2 separate regions of the Homo sapiens genome follow, and region 2 is linked to region 1. Evidence: promoter capture Hi-C in 16 types of primary human blood cells and fetal thymus (Javierre and others, 2016). All regions are on one chromosome and are shown on one strand. The core of a region is centred on a gene start or on the middle of the fragment in contact, and the rest is flanking DNA. Distances in the headings are between cores, read along the strand shown.

Region 1 (2,700 bases), core at 126-2,625:
CCAGGAACCTCACTCTGCACTGTCTCTGGAGGTACCTTGAGTTTACCTTCCTGGCCTGCTGGGGTGCCTCAGGACTCTGAGGGAAGAAGGAGGGGACAACTGGAAGCAAAATGTAGAATGGTAAAGCCAAACTTCTTGGTAGCAAAACTTTCCTGGTTCCAGGAGGTAAAAACAACAACCAAATGGTCCTGGCCCCATGGAGCAGGGCAGAGGGCAGAGGGCAGCCAGCCCACCGCCTTTGCTGGTGTCTGCAGTGCGTGAATCGTGTCTAGGTCTGTGAGTTCTGAAGGTTGGATGTTCACCTCTACTCCTTCCTCGGCCTGTCTCCTCTCAGTGCAGCTAGACATCCAGTAAACACTAGATAAGTACTTACTGAGCTGGGTGGATTTTCCATTCATGGTTCCCTGGGGCACAAGTGGAAGTGGTAGGTCTGGGCCCTGTCTGGTCTAGAGAGAGGAGACCCTTTTACAAAGGGCAGGCACGTAGTTCTGAGAGGAGGAGCTGATGGCAGAGCTGGCTGGACTGCTCAGGTAACTGCAGAGGGTCTGGGCCTGGACCCCCCAAGGGAGTCCCCACTGAATGGTCAGGTTGCCTGAGATAGCTGAGCCCTAGGCACTTTGCGGGCAGAGATCCCCTTAAGCTGCTTTGACCCTCCCTCCCCCACAGTGAGTGGGGCACGGGGGATGCTCCCCTCTCTACTTGGGGAAGGGGCCTTCCTAATTATATCCCCCTCCACTCACATGGAAATGAGTTTGGATTTTCTGAGCGTACACCAGCTGGCTTGGGGGGAGGCAGCCCAGAAGGCTGCTGGCTGGGAAAGGGAGGAGAAAGGAGAGGGAGGGGAAGGAGCCAGGCCAAGATGAAAAATTTCCAGTGTTCTCCCAGGCAAAGCAACAGCGGGTCCCTGAGTGCTCCCCACATATCATCGTTGTGCCTGCTGGTAGGCTCAGCAGGGAGCCGTGTCCACTTAGGCGAACGCATCCTCCGAGGACCATAGTCCTCAGGGTGCGAACCACTTAGCTGGCCATAGCAAGGTTGTTGGGTGTTGGACTCCTCTGCGCCCTTGGAGAGAGGTCCTCCACGACTTCTACGCCAATCTTTTTACGGGGTGCGGGGAGTGGAACTGAGGCCCAGAGAGGGGATAGGGCCTGCCGCCCCTGGCAGAAGACCACAAGTCTGGCTTGTCCGCAGCTGGGCTTTCCCCGTAGAGTTGCCCGGGAGAGGGTGGCGAAGGTTCCCCCAGCAGTTCCGCTCTCGCTCAGGAAAGCCAGTGAGGCGAGAAAAGGCTGCGAGGGGCGGGGGGAGGGGCGGGGTGGGGTCAGCGCTGGCTCCGCCTCCTGGCGCTTGGGTCTGCCTGCGGCCGGGCGCTGGCTCAGTCTCGGCTGATTGCCGCTGTCGCTCCCGGGGCCACGGGATGACGCCTCCTCCGCCCGGACGTGCCGCCCCCAGCGCACCGCGCGCCCGCGTCCCTGGCCCGCCGGCTCGGTTGGGGCTTCCGCTGCGGCTGCGGCTGCTGCTGCTGCTCTGGGCGGCCGCCGCCTCCGCCCAGGGCCACCTAAGGAGCGGACCCCGCATCTTCGCCGTCTGGAAAGGTAGGCGGCGCCGCGCGGCCGGTCAGGCGCGGGATCAGACGCTGCGCGGGGCGGGTGCGGAGTGTGCTGCACCCGGAGGGAGTGCGTGCGCGCAGCTCTGCGGGTCCCGGGCTGTCCCCGCGCTGTCCCCGCGTGGAGCGTGTGGGTTTGGGTGAGTGTGTGTGAGTGTACACGCTGGCACACCAGAGCCGGCTGTAACGCTGCGGCGAGCGAGCGGCGGGGGCCGGAGCCCCGGCTAAGTCGCACCAAGTCCCTGGCAGCCAGGAGCCGCAACGCCCGGGCGCCAGGGGAGGGGGCGGGCCCCTCTCTCGGCCCCGAGCCACTCTGGGTCCTCTGGCTCGGGGGCTTCGGCGGAGGACCTTTCCCCGCCTGGGACCCCAACCCGGGTACCCTCCTTTTGAGCTGCGGGCTCTGCTGGCGCGCGGGGCGCAGGCTGGGCCGGCAAGGGGGGCGCGGACCCCTTGCCGCCGCCGCCGCGCTTCGGCAGCGGGAACAAAGACCCCGCCGCCTGCCCCCGCCCCCGCCCCGGCCCGGAGCTCGGGCCAGGCAAGGGGGTGGGCATCCTGCAGCGAGCGGCGGGACATGGTGCGGTGCGGCGGCTTGGGGTACCAGGGCGCTGCCTCAGCAATGCCGGGACCGGCCGCTCCCCCCTTGCCCGCACGTGGCAGTTGTCACCAGAAATCGGCTCCAGCGTTGGGGGGCAGTGCCCGTTGGGTGGGGCACGGCCGTTGGGACCCCCAGGCGGTGGATCTAGGGCGGGGGTGCAGCCTTTAGGCCAGGGTAGATAATAAGAACCTGGGGGACTGGAGTCTCCCCCAGGGCACCTCAGTTTAGACCCTGTACTATGGGACAGAAAGCCGGTTAGGCGGGGGTTTGAGGCTTTCTGCCGCGAGGAACTGATCTCCCCTCCCCTGCATTGCACACAAATGCCTCCCCGCCCCCAGTCCGATTCGGCTCTGTCCCCAAATTTGGCGTGTCTGCGGCCCCCCTGTCGTGATGGTGGGGGACTCGCAGTGGGGGCTGGGGGAACTGGTCGGGTCTGGCCCCACCGGGAGCCTTTTGATGCCTTTGGCAGTTTGCAGGGATTGCGGGAGTCTGAGCATTATCT
Region 2 (2,700 bases), core at 37-2,536, 520 kb before region 1:
AAGGGTTAAAGCCACCCAGCATTCACGAAGAGCACCTGAAGTATGGAAGCTGAGAAGAGTTATTGGAATCACCCCCACCGTTGACAGAGGAAGGCAGGGGGTGAGAATTAACTGCTTGAGGGTAGGAGAGTCTGAGATGTGGGGGCCCTATTCCGCTCCCCGCCCTGGGACAGTTTTCCTTTCTAGTTTTCTTTCCCCTGCTTCAGAGGAGCATCTCTGAGGGTTCTAGCTCTTTTAACACCCCTTTTCCCCCTGCTGGCCCAGAGGGAGACCCAGGACTGAACTCTCCAGGCCTCCTCCCCTGAGCCCTGCAGCTGGCTGGAGTCTTGCTTCCAATAAAACAAGCACAAAAATGGCTGTGTCCCCCATTTTTTTTCTAACCACCCGCCTGTGCAGAGACAGCTCTCGCCTGGCCCCTTGTGTCTCCCCTCCCCTCCAGCCTTGCGTCCTGAGTCTTTGGAGTCTTCAGGGTCAGGCACAGAGACTGAACAGCTTCAAAATGGTGCAAGGCACTGCCCAGTCCCTGGCTTCTTCCTCTCTCCTCCCCCACTCCGCCCTCCCGGGCTGGCCCTGGCCTCAGAGGCTGTTGCAAATGGGGGCCCGTGTACCCCTGTACATCGCCACTAAGGGAAAGGGAGCGGCACATTGTTTTTCTGGGAGGGGAAGGAAGGAGTGGAAGGACAGCATCGATGAACTCTCCTGGAGGTCACTGCAAAGGGTGGCAGACCCTGCTGAGGTCCCTGAATCTGCAGCCTCCAGACAATAAACTGAACCTTACCCAGAAGGCTGGCACAAAGCCCCCAGCTCTGTGGGTAGGATCTCCCCTTCACTGCCCTCTCTCTGAGAAAGGACAGCACACCCTTGGGAAAGGGGGAGGAGAGAGACTGAGCACAAATCCACTGCTGGAAATTACTATTCAGCAGAGAAGCTGGGTCTTGGGCTGTGAATCACTGCAGGCCTCCTGATAAGCTGCTGCCTCCAGCCCTGCACAGCTGTCTGTTGAGAGATAACAGCCTCATAAGCTTCTCTGCCCAACTCCAAGCCAGCTGGGGGGTGGGGGTGCTGCTGTGTGCTGGAAGAGCTCTGGTGAGTTGGGGGTGGCATACAGCCCCAGGATCTCAGAAGCAGATCTCATCCCATGCAACTCAGCAGCACCCCTGGAAAGGGGGAGATGCGGAAGAATGTATTTATAAGTCATTTTGCTGGCAGAACCCTGAAATAAATCCTGCTGGTGACAAGAGATACGTTCTGTGGCTGACTGGAGGGGCTCTTAGGGAGGTTTCCCTCCCCTGCAGTATCTCTGCTTGAGCTTTGGAGTGAGCTTTGTCATCCAGACTTTGTCCCTCGTTGCTCTCCCCAAATTCCTGCTCTTGATGAGTCCCTGGAGAGGGCCAAGGGGTTTGGGTTTGCTTGTCTGACCCTCTCAGGGGTGGCCCAAGAAGCATGGAAAGAATGTAAACTGTCCTGACAAGATGGCCTAGCTTCTCCTGGACTTCAGCATCTAAAGGCAGTGATAAAACTTGGACAAGGTCCTGCATGGTAGAAGCTTAAGGGAGACTGGTCTTGGTTCTGAAAAGGGTCCAACTTTCCAAGACAACAAGTGACTGATAGCCGGGTTACCAGGACTATGAAAGCAGGGCCTGAGGCCGGGCATGGTGGTTCATGCCTGTAATCCTGTAATCCCAGCACTTTGGGGGGCCAAGGCGGGCAAATCACGAGGTCAGGAGCTTGAGACCAGCCTGGCCAACATGGTGAAACCCCGTCTCCACTAAAAATACAAAAATTAGTCAGGCATGGTGGCGGGCGCCTGTAATCCCAGCTACTCAGGAGGCTGAGGCAGGAGAATCGCTTGAACCTGGGAGGCGGAGGTTGCAGTGAGCCGAGATTGCATCACTGCACTCCAGCCTGGGCGACAGTGTGAGACTCCGTCTCGAAAAAAAAAAAAAGAAAGCAGGGTCTGCTAGTCTTGTCACGGAGATAAGGCTGCAATGGATTTTTTTTTATTATTTTTTTTGAAACGGAGTATCTCTCTGTCGCCCGGGCTGGAGTGCTGTGGTGCGATCTCGGCTCACTGCAACCTCTGCCTCCTGGGTTCAAGCGATTCTCCTGCCTCAGCCTCCTGAGTAGCTGGGATTACAGGCGTGTATCCCCACACTCGGCTAGTTTTTGTATTTTTAGTAGAGAAGGGGTCTCACCATGTTGGCCAGGCTGGTCTCAAACACCTGATCTCAGGTGATCCACCCGCCTCGGCCTCCCACAGTGCTGGGATTACAGGCATGAGCCACCACACCCGGCCTCTCTTTTTTATTTTTTTTATTTTAATTATTATTATTATTATTTTGAGAAGGAGTCTTGCTCTGTCACTAGGCTGGAGTGCAGTGGTGCAATCTCAGCTCACTGCAACCTCCACCTCCTGGGTTTAAGCGATTCTTCTGCCTCAGCCTCCCAAGTAGCTGGGATTACAGGCATGTGCCACCACGCCCAGCTAATTTTTGTATTTTTAGTAGAGACGGCATTTCACCATGTTGGCCAGGATGGTCTCAATCTCTTGACCTTGTGATCCACCTGCCTTGGCTTCCCAAAGTGCTGGGATTAGAGGTGTGAGCCACCACGATTTTATATATATATATATTTTTTCGCCCGGCTGTAGTGCAATGGCACAATCTCAGCTCACCGCAACCTCTGCCTCCCAGGTTCAAG

Evidence for each region. The method cuts DNA at HindIII sites, captures the fragments that hold promoters and counts their contacts. A CHiCAGO score of 5 or more calls a contact.
Region 2: a contact is called between a fragment that was not itself captured here and the fragment with the promoter of SEMA7A in region 1, in 3 of 17 cell types (naive B cells, fetal thymus and naive CD8 T cells). The highest score is 6.5, in naive B cells.

Annotation. Positions count from the first base shown.
Region 1 is chr15:74,432,633-74,435,332 of GRCh38, reverse strand. It overlaps SEMA7A (semaphorin 7A (JohnMiltonHagen blood group)), which reads left to right and starts at 1,375. Exons shown (of 14, transcript NM_003612.5): 1 at 1,375-1,592. The coding sequence starts at 1,415. RefSeq lists silencers at 1,233-1,742, 1,793-1,942, 2,093-2,212. The HindIII fragment of the contact is 7,034 bases long and covers 1-2,700 here.
Region 2 is chr15:74,952,958-74,955,657 of GRCh38, reverse strand. It overlaps RPP25 (ribonuclease P/MRP subunit p25), which reads left to right. Exons shown (of 1, transcript NM_017793.3): 1 at 1-1,240. Among named protein-coding and RNA genes, the nearest start is that of RPP25, 2.5 kb to the left of the region's middle. RefSeq lists enhancers at 1-136, 137-1,070. The HindIII fragment of the contact is 524 bases long and covers 1,025-1,548 here.